2 separate regions of the Homo sapiens genome follow, and region 2 is linked to region 1. Evidence: promoter capture Hi-C in human tissues and cell types (Jung and others, 2019). All regions are on one chromosome and are shown on one strand. Each heading gives the region's core, a stretch centred on a gene start or on the middle of the fragment in contact. The rest is flanking DNA. Distances are from core to core; before and after follow the strand shown. Region 1 holds the start of TFAP2D (transcription factor AP-2 delta). Region 2 overlaps TFAP2B (transcription factor AP-2 beta).

What was found. The method cuts DNA at HindIII sites, captures the fragments that hold promoters and counts their contacts. A contact is called where the count stands out against the background at its distance.
Region 2: a fragment that was not itself captured here is called in contact with the fragment with the promoter of TFAP2D in region 1 in 2 of the 25 tissues and cell types used here (H1 embryonic stem cells and neural progenitor cells).

Annotation. Positions count from the first base shown.
Region 1 is chr6:50,710,981-50,715,983 of GRCh38, reverse strand. It overlaps TFAP2D (transcription factor AP-2 delta), which reads right to left and starts at 2,458. Exons shown (of 8, transcript NM_172238.4): 1 at 1,890-2,458; 2 at 371-868. The coding sequence starts at 1,928. RefSeq lists an enhancer at 194-724. The HindIII fragment of the contact is 8,496 bases long and covers 890-5,003 here.
Region 2 is chr6:50,845,909-50,850,911 of GRCh38, reverse strand. TFAP2B (transcription factor AP-2 beta) reads right to left here. Exons shown (of 7, transcript NM_003221.4): 7 at 3,293-5,003. Among named protein-coding and RNA genes, the nearest start is that of TFAP2B, 30 kb to the right of the region's middle. RefSeq lists enhancers at 891-1,390, 1,391-1,892. The HindIII fragment of the contact is 5,266 bases long and covers 435-5,003 here.

The DNA.
Region 1 (5,003 bases), core at 1,209-3,708:
ACCCCAGACTCCTCGATCTCCTCCACCTCATCCCCTCAGGGTCACAAATGTTGATTCACAAAAGACTTCTGTGAGGACAAACCAAAGATGGAGGGCCGCAGCCGCCCGGACTCCCGCACTTCCAGGTGAAATGCTTGGATCCAATGAGAGGAAGAGAACGGGCACACTCCTCCTCTAATTGTTTTGATAACTTTCCATAAGTGGTGTGTGTGTGTGTGTGTGTGTGTGTGTGTGAGAGAGAGAGAGAGAGAGAGAGAGAGAGGAGAAGAGAGAGAGAAAGAGAGACGCTTTACAGTCGGAGCATTAATGGGGCGGCAGGGGGAGGGCGAAGAGGGGAGGGAGCAGACAAATTCGCTGCATGCTTATTTACCTGCAAGTCGTCTGCTCCCGCGGCGGCCAGCCCCAGGCTGGGCCCTGGCAGGAGTCTTTGATCTGGGTGCATTCCATACTGAGAGCCATGGCTCATGAGGGACAGGTCATGGCGGCGGTAGGCATCGAGGCAGCCCAGCTCCCGCCTCTGCTCGTCCAGGCAGGACGACTTGAGCGCCCGCGCATTGTGCAGGTTAATAAAGTCGGTGGGCTCCCCGTGGTGGATCTGCTGGTAGTACTGTTGCGAGTGGTGGAGAGAGTTCAGAGAGTAGGCGTCGGGGGTGACGGCCGGGTGGCTGTGCTGAAACTCGTAATGGAAGGACTGGTGGTGGAGCGGGGTGTACTGGTGGTTAGTGGAGAAGTAGGGGGACGCAAACTCGGTGCCGGTGGTGGAGTAAGTTAAAGGAGAGGAGGAGGAATAGGCGACAGTGGAATTGGCTACTGACTCCAGACAGCCAAGCTGCATCAAACGGTAGCTGTTTGATCCGTCGTGACGTATCTGGAAGGAAGAGGGGGAAAAGGGAGAGCAGAAAAACTTGAGGTTTGTCATTTTGCAACCAAGGCGCCGCTCTCCCGGAGCCAGGAGCTTTCTCTGGCACTCCAAGGAAAGCGAGCGCGTAGGACTCGGGCCGAGCCGAAGCCGGGTCTCAGCGTCTTCACCAGAGAGCCTTTGCAAACAGGCGAACTGGGGGTGGGCGGCCTCGTCCTCACAGTCGAGAGAGCGGAAAAAAAATCCCCCACCCTATATAGGTGCGGGTGACACCACACACGCACACACACGCACAGACACACACACACAGACACACACACAGCCCCTGCCCAACTTGTGCAGGGAGCTTGGCGTTGGGATCCAGGTTTGCAACTGACTCCGGGGCCGCGGGTAGCAGAGGAACGAGTCCACCCGAAAAGAGCGCTGGCCCGGGGCGCCTTGCCACTCTAACTAGACCCCAGCATCGAAATTCTGCGCCTGTCTATGCCGAGATGTTCGGCCCGGGCTGCTCAAAATCATTGTCCATATATTTTAAAAAATCCAGTCTGTGCAAATCGTTCAACTTGCTCCCTTCCTTAGTCATTCGAGGGAGGGAATCCGACTCCCTCTTTTCTGCTTCCCTTTCCTTGAATAAGCCCATTCCAAAAGGGGTGCGTTTTCCCCATCCCCCTTGTGCATCTACTGCTTCCCCACCAGTCCCTTTTCTTTGCTTTTCTGAGAATCTTTCTTTCCGTCTCTATCTCTTTCTCTTCACTCCCCCCTTTTATTATTAAGATTATGTTTTCCCGCTCATTATGGCAAATGTTTCTTAACGTGGCAGAGAGTTGCCCTCCCTGGCGACAGATGTCATAACGAACTTTCTCCCCTTTCCTTCCTTAACTTCCCCCGAAAGACAGATTATAATTAAACGTAACGGTCCAATATAGATTAGAGACAGGGGAGGCTGCCACCGCCGCCGCCACCGCCGCCACCGCCGCCGCCGCCACACACACGCGCGCTCAAAAAAAAAAAAAAAAAAAAGTAATAATACCTCGGCATCGTGGACTAGTCCCGGAAAGGTAGTTGACATGTTGGGTTTCTCCGAAAGCTTACGATGCAATTTCCCCCTCCAAAAAAAGAATCGGGAAAAAAAAATCCAAACTTCTTGTATTTTCCAATTTTTAAAGGAAAAAAAAAATGTTCTATAGGTAGATATCTAAATTGTAATGGTTTTGCCCGGATCAGATAGCTCCTTGCCTCGTACCCACTTAAAAACCTGTAGGAACAAAATTTTCCCTCTGCACAAAAGCAGCTCCCTGGAACAGATTTTGTACTTGCTGAGTATTTCTTTGGCTGATGTCGTAGGTCCCTTGGTAATATAGAAGTTTTGAAAATTAAGCATCAGCACTGAGAACTGGGAGGACAATAGGCAGAAGAGATTTATCCCAGGAGACAAGGAATAAATATTGTATCTTCGCCTAATAAGGAACTGGAGGTTCTTTCAACATTTTTATCCATTTTTTCCAACCTTTATCATGCTTTTCTATACCGACTGAGGTGGGGACTTATCTCTGTGGAGAGTATTTGCACACATTTTATTGTGAAGCTAGAGCTCTAGCTCCAATATATGTATATTAGAGATAGAAATATATATTAATTAAAGCTTCCTTTTATATGGGGAAGTGTTCATTCCTATTGGTTCCACTCCCTGGATGCTGAAAGCTGCTTTTTCCAACAACCACCCGAATCAATTTTGCCCAGATTGGGGTGTCTGCCTTCGCCCAAGTGGAAACAATGCTGGTCTTTCCATATTTACATTGAATTTGGGTTCTTTCCCCTTTTTTGAAAGGCAAAATCAAGCGGTGGCTTACACTTTTCAGCAGCTTTAAAAATAAATAATGGTGATGGACAGTCCCAAGTTTCCATCATCAGGAAATGGTGTAACTGGCAATGCATTTAGGAAAAATGCAAGGGAATAAAGATGTAAGACAAGATTCTACATTTAGGTAAACTGTTGTCTTTCACTCCCCAAACCAAACCATATCCCCCCTCTTTTGTGTTTTTCTTCTTCCCTTTTGGAAACACTGCTGGTGGTGGTGGGGTGTAGACCGTTCAGCAGTAGCATTAGGTTTTTGAACACTATTACCCCCAAAATAACCCTTAAATGCTTGGAAGTTATATTTTATAAATAGAGGGCAGGAAGGAAGCAGTGCACACATATTTCCATCTCTTCAGTGGATTTCTTGACTTTCAAACAGTTTTTGAGCTTTCCTTCCTTCAAAATTCAGCTTCCTCCACCAAGTTGTTTAGTGCCTGGAGGGGGTGGTGGTAGCTATAAACCTGAAATACTGAGGCTTTGCTCCTCAGTGTCTACATTATAAGAAAGAACTGGCTGGCCCCACAGACTCATCTCATAGATAGAAGGGGTAATTCAGTCTTAATTGCCATTTCATTTGGTTTGCTTTTAAGTGTTTAAGCTGAGAAGGTGTCTTAATAATAAGCCTCAGGCAAACAGGCATGTGGCTTTTTTTTTTTTTAGGTTGGGGTTTGGGAGGGTTTATTAGGATCTGCTCATGCAGGCTAACTGGGGCTGTCACTCAGAGCTCTTTGCTTTATACAAATGGACAAAGGCACACGACAAGAATTGAAATGCATTGTCTGAAATGGAGATACACGATTCTTCAGCCCCACATGGGGTCAGCAGCCAACACTTGTTCCCTATTTCAAGGTGTGCCAGTGCTGCCCCCCTCCCACCCCTCCTTGAAATTCCATATTTTGGCCTAATGAAGTAAGGAGACTGAGAGACCAATGATGACAAAAAGGAAGAATATCCAACTTAATCTTTAAGTAAAAGGGGTAAAATGAGTGCTGTTGGCTCTAGGGGTTGAATCCCAAAAATGTTTGCAGTGGAGTCTTTGTTTACCAGGTCTGAGTGGGGCCTCCATAGCTTACCCACGGAGAAAATAACTAATCATCTCTGGGAGATGGAGACTGCCCCCACGACCTTAACTCAGGCACCCCTGCCCCTGGGAAAGTGCAGACCATTCCCTGGAAGAATATGTAGGACTTGCAGGTTATCTTGGGGAATGCCCAGGTGCGCTTTTCCTGGTGGATGATATTGGCTTCCCAGTTAGTCCCGGTCAAATGGAAGAGGATAGCCCTTCTCAGACATGTTGCAATCTCCTTTCCAACACCCCTACTGTCAGATACACCTTCATTGAAGGTGACGGTACCTTCTCTTCCCAGTTTAGGTCCAGGCAGCAGACACAAAACCCTCTCCCCGGGGAACAACAATGAGGAAGCTCAGGAAGATGTGGCCGCCTGCTCTGCCTGCTGGCCCAGAGTGTTTGTTCCACATGTTTGTCCCTGTCTGGAATAAGAGCCACACATAGCCCCCCTCACCCCTGCCACCGCACTCAGAAGATATAGCTTTATGATACTCTCGGTAATGAGCTCTGGCCTTGAACTGAGTACACCCCATGGAATGACCTCCAGTAGCCTGGACCCTGTGAACATCAGGACATCACCAACTAACTGGCAATCATCGCATTCCACCCCCTAACCCCACTTTCATGGTTCACTTTCCTGAGTGACTTTTAGGTATCCAAACAAAGAGTGTCCAGGGTTTAACTTACATGCTTGTTGAACTCTTGTGGACATGAGGGGAAACTAAAGATCCTGAAGAGTGAGAAAAGACCCTTTCATTTGTACTTAAGGAAAATGAAGCAGGAAGGATAAAATGGCTCTCTTTTAGTTTTGAGATTTCCCTTGCCAGGGCCCTTGACTACCTTAGAAAGCATCCCTCTTAACCCTATGTCTTGGCTTCCCACACCAGCATCTGAACTGCAGGGAAACTTCATTTGGCCAACTGCTCCCTCCCACTTCATTCCAACTTAAAAAAATAAAAAAGCTGTTTTCCCCTGAAAGAAACAAAGTTGAGGAAATCATCCATGCCATATGCACATATTGGTCAGCGCTCCCTTCCATCTGCTCTGGGGTTGCTCAGCGCGCCCCTTTTCTAAAGAAACTCATTGAGGCAGGTGTGTGGTGTGTTTGGTGCCTGTGTGTGTGTGTGTGTGTGTGATGTGATGTGTGTGTGTGTAGCGTTCATTTCTGTCAGACACCCCCCCATCCAATTAATAGTCTTGAGCAATTAATAAGTGTC
Region 2 (5,003 bases), core at 1,818-4,317, 130 kb before region 1:
GTGGGCAGGAACTAATAGGTTTTCGAACAAGTGGGCGAAAAACTACCTGACCTTGCTAGCTTGTGACCAGCGTGGAACGTGTTGAACATGTGTGACAAAACTGCTTCCTCAATCTGAGCACACGCAGCTTACAAAAAAAAAAAATTGAAGGCTTCCCACGCTGCAGCCCCTTCAAACCCCAGTGCCCTGATCCCGAGGGCGCGCCACAAACTCTAGCAGGCGAGCTGCGAGCCCTGGCCCGTCACAGCAGCTGGGGTTACGCCCGGGGGCGCCACGGCGCGTGCGCCTGCGTGGGCGTCCGCGCGTGCGCACTTGTTGACACCCTGCTTGGCAACCTGGAGAGCGTGCCTAGACGCGGGCTCCCGGAGCCGTGTGCGACGGCTCGACGCAGGCTGGCGCGGCGCACGCGCGGTTCGTTGGCCCGCGGTCCCTGTGCCCGGAGCGTGTGTTATTACCCAGTCTCCCAACTGGTGTCGGTGATTGAGCTCTGGAAACCTGAAGGAAAGACAGTGGGAGTGCGCCGGCATGTGACCCAGGGGAGGGGCATGGCGGGACCCAAGCCGGGAAAGTAGACCCGGGGAGATGTTTGACTGACCTCATCCTGAGTAAGCCCATGGGGTTATTTATGAGGCCTGATTTAAAGTAGTGGCTGCCAGGAAAGTGAAAAAGGAGCTCACCTCAAGCTATGAGAGGAGCTACAGTCGCAAGAATGCTGTTTATGACTATATAAATCACCGTGGAGCGTGTGATGGGAAATATGGAGACTGCGAGTTTAGGATAGAAACAAGGAAACAAAGTCAAGAAGGAAAAATGAGTTTTCGCCCTGTCTTTTTTATCCACTCCCTCCGACCGCGCGCAGTTCCTCCCTCCCCTAGGATACCGCGATCCCGGCGGAGAGGAACGGGAGGAGAGCGCGCCCCCCCGCCCCACACCCCACCCCGTCGTGGGTCGGGTCTGCCCGAGTCTTCCCCAAGTTTACACCAGGATCGTTAGAGAGCCAGGGAATACATGTAAATAAACAGCTTGGAAGATTTATGGGAAGGAGTTCAATTTTATAGGACTGTATTTATAGAGCAAGCGCTGGCTCACTTATAAATAGATTAATGGGAAGCTCAAATTAATGGACTTGTGAGCTGCACGTTTAATTTCTGAGGCTTCAACATGACAGACAACCGCCCTCAAAGTCCAAGCGTGGAAGGCAGCTTGCCCTGAGAAGCCGAGAGCGCCCTCAGGAAGGGACACTTCCCACCGGGCCAACAACTCTCAGGTGGCCCCTAACTTCGGCGCCCAGGGTCCCTGGGAAGGGACCCTACGGAACTGTTATTTGCAAATGAAGAAAAGGAATGTGGCTTCATAAAAAAATAATCGGGTCTTCCTTCCAGCACTATTTTTAATCAAGCCCTTAACCCGCTAACACGAGCCGGCGGGTGCGTTCTGGGCCACTGTAAGCCGCCCACCGGATCTGGCGGTCTCAGGGTCCCTGCGCTGGGCCGGTCAACGACCTAGAGGTTCTAGCTACTGCTCTTTCCTTACTCCCTCTACAGCCTGCTAACACTGTAACAAAGGGGCCGGGGAGCTGTGACACGCAGCCCAGGGCTGTCTTAGTCAAGGCTGTCTCCAGCTTCCAACCCCTTTTCTTTCCCTTTTTGGTTATTCTTGCCAGGTCTTTCCTTCAGTTATTTTCAGGCTCCTCAAAATCTTGGGTTTTACTTACTAAAGGTGATTGTTTCAGACCCTCTTTTTGCCAAGTGGCGGTGGTGGGTAGGAGTAGCCTGGAGCTTACCTGTGGGATAATAGATTGCAGGTCGGTTTATCAAGGGCTCGTGCTAACCTTGAGCAGGAAAAATTGCCATACGATATGGAAATTACCCACCACCTGCTTTGTATAATCCCAGTGGTAACCAACTCCCATCCTCTGTAAAGCAAATGAAAGGAACACTCAGTGTAACAATTGAACCAGAGAATAAGACATATCTATTTTTTTCTAGATAAATGTATGTCCTCATAAGCACACATCCCTTGGTTTTCTCTGCTTCCTTGTTTCCTTTTATTCCCCCCCCCATTTTTTGTTTTTTGTTTTTTTTTGTTTGTTTGTTTGTTTTGCTTTTCTTTGATTCCACTATTTATAGTTCTAGCCATGATCTTCCCGCTTTTAATTAATAGGACAGGAAGGGGGAAATCTCACATAAAGCAGATTCCATTGTTCCTTCTGCCTTTCCCTATAAGGAAGTCCAATTGAAAAAGATTCACGTTTAAAAACAGAAAATTGGTATGGGAGGCATATTATTAACTGAAAACAAACTATATGCTAAGCACTGATATATAAATCTGGGATCATCATGATTTAAAGTTTCCAATTCTCCTTAAACTCATATACAGGTTGCTGTTTCTGCTTTTTATAATTAAACTATAGGCAATATTGATGAAGTAAAGGACCTTAGGAGGTCCATATTTATTTTTACAGATAAAGACCTTGAGGCGCAAAAAGGAGCAGTGACTCATCCAAACTGTTTAACATCGTGGGTGATTTTGCTTTCCTGGCCTCAAGGAAGACACCTAAGCCTTGGAATAAAATACAGATTGAGACGATGTTTGATCACTGCAGCCCATTAGGGCCCAGCTGAAGCCTATTAACCCAGGTGTGAAAAGCTCTGGCTTCTCTAGGCAGCCTCTGAGCCTAGGGTAGGAGCCCCCCAACTTCCTAAGACATGTACACTTTTTTCCTCTTCTCAGTTGAGGGAGCTTTTTCCTCCATTGTTTATGGAGGGCCTTGCACTGCTAATGAGGTCAGGGTCGGGTTCAATTCTGAAATGGGGGTTAACTCCTTCATATCCCAAGTTGAGGGGTGCAGGAGCCCACACCCAGCCCTGAAGACTTCTCCTGCACCGTGCACCATCTCCTTCTTAGAACACTATGCCAGAATGCCAACCCACGAGCAGTGGGAAGGGAGCATCATCTCTGACAGCAACCCAGAGTCCTCTAGTTACCTGGGAAGTAAATTTGACTCCTCGATTTGTAAAGGGCAGAAGAAACCAAAAGATTCAGTTAACATTAGCTTTTATTGCAAATCTGGTTAGAAATAGGAGAGAAGAATGTAAATTTGGAATTTAAAAAAATCAAAAACACTTCTCCTAGTGAAAAAAAGTTCATTTTTCTGAGAAGCAAAATTTATTATATTTCTGTTGTAATGAAAACGCTGTGGGTGCTTCGATGGGGGAGGACAAAAAGTAAAAAGCTTCTTACACTTTTCCTCTGTCGGTAGAATTAAAAACATTGTCCACATTTAAGAAACTGAAGATGAAAACACAACAATCTTTTTATTTATGTAAATCAGATTAACACTGGACAATAAACCAATTTCTACCCATTACCATAACAGCTTGTTTATAAAGAACAGAAAAATTCAGATAGGATTCTATCTAGGGTCAAGAGGTTTTTTAACCACCCATTCACAGAGGTATAGATTCACAGATAAATAATCCCAAACTACTTGCTCGCCATATTTACACATTCCCATTAAATTAAGCATAAATAAATATATACAAACTTAACATGAATACCCTCCAGAGCTCTTCTCGTGAAGAGTCAATAGATTGATATTTCTTGATTGTGTGGCAAAAACAATGTTAGAGAATTAGAGACCAACTCAAAGGTGGAGTCGATTTTGGCATTTAAAGAAGGATAGTGTTCATTCCGTTAAAAAAAAATTGATACTTTTTTTTTTAAGCCAGTAATTTCACATACATCGTCAAAGGTGGGGAAACGCCGTTTGGGCTCTTGAGGCAACATCAGACGGTTTAAGGTTATTTCCTTTCCACATAATGTATTACAAGTACAGGATATCAGATGTGATGACAAATTCTCTATAAACACTCTTAACTAGGAAAGCATTGTAGCAGAGGAACAGTGTGTAGATAAGCTCGAGGTTTCGAGTTTTCCATTCGACCAAAGTTTTCGTAGGATATGAAATAATTGCTTGAGAGAAAGTGGCTTCCTTGGCCAAGGAAAACAAAGCAGCCAGGTCTTTAAAAGCCTCTTCGGTTCTTTAAGTGGGGATGGAGGAAAGCTATGGGTGTGGAGGCCAGAAGGAAGGAAAGAAAATGCAAGGTAATTGGGGGTGTAGGAGTGAAGGTGGTGGGGAAAAGGGGGAGAAAGTTACCTTCCCACTTTGGGGGAGAAGTTAAAGATCTTTTTAGGTGACGGAATCCTCACCCAAACAGGACATTTCTTGCTCCCCAGAGACCTGCAATACGTGCAGGAGGCGGCAGGGTTTGGCAGAGAATGGTCTGGAGATCTTTGGAACCTTTAAAAGAACTTGCGAAGTGGAAAGTGTGAAGGCAGCACTGCCACATCCTGACTCCTCCTGTCTTTCGCTATTTTGTTTTGGGACTGAGCGTTTAGGAGTGGGCAGGGACCAAATGTCTGAAGAGTGCAGGGGCCGGGGGGAGAGCTGCAACTCACCTGTTTGGTTTGAAAACAAAGCTCAAAGGGGCTTGCCTTAAACGTCTCCCTTGACTTAAAAGGCAAACTATTGCGTTAATCCTACTGTTTATTGATTTATAGGCCCAAGGAAACCAAATCTTTTAATAACTCAATTATCAGATAAATGTAGCGGGCCTGGCTAAGGAAAGCAAGGGGGCGGGGGTCCTACATGAAAGGAGAAGTGAGGGAGGGAGAAGGGGTAGTGGGCTCACTCCACGAAACGGGGTTGGGGGCGCAAAAGGTTCTATCTCGCTGGAGCAAGGAGGAACACACAAATGAGGGCGTCTGGCAATGAAGGTACCCTGCCTTGCCAAGTAAGACAATTCCCATCCCATCTCCCCGCTTTAGGATTGTGACGGTGGGGTGTTTCCGTACTGGCAGAGGTGGAGGAGGGGAAGCTTCGGATTCCTTGGATATTTCTAGGCCACTCTCCCTCCAGGAGCCGGCGCCCCGGGTGGCCGCTGGCGGCGCTGGGAGCCCTCCCCACCTGCAGCCCACCGGGCGCCGCCCCATTACCTACT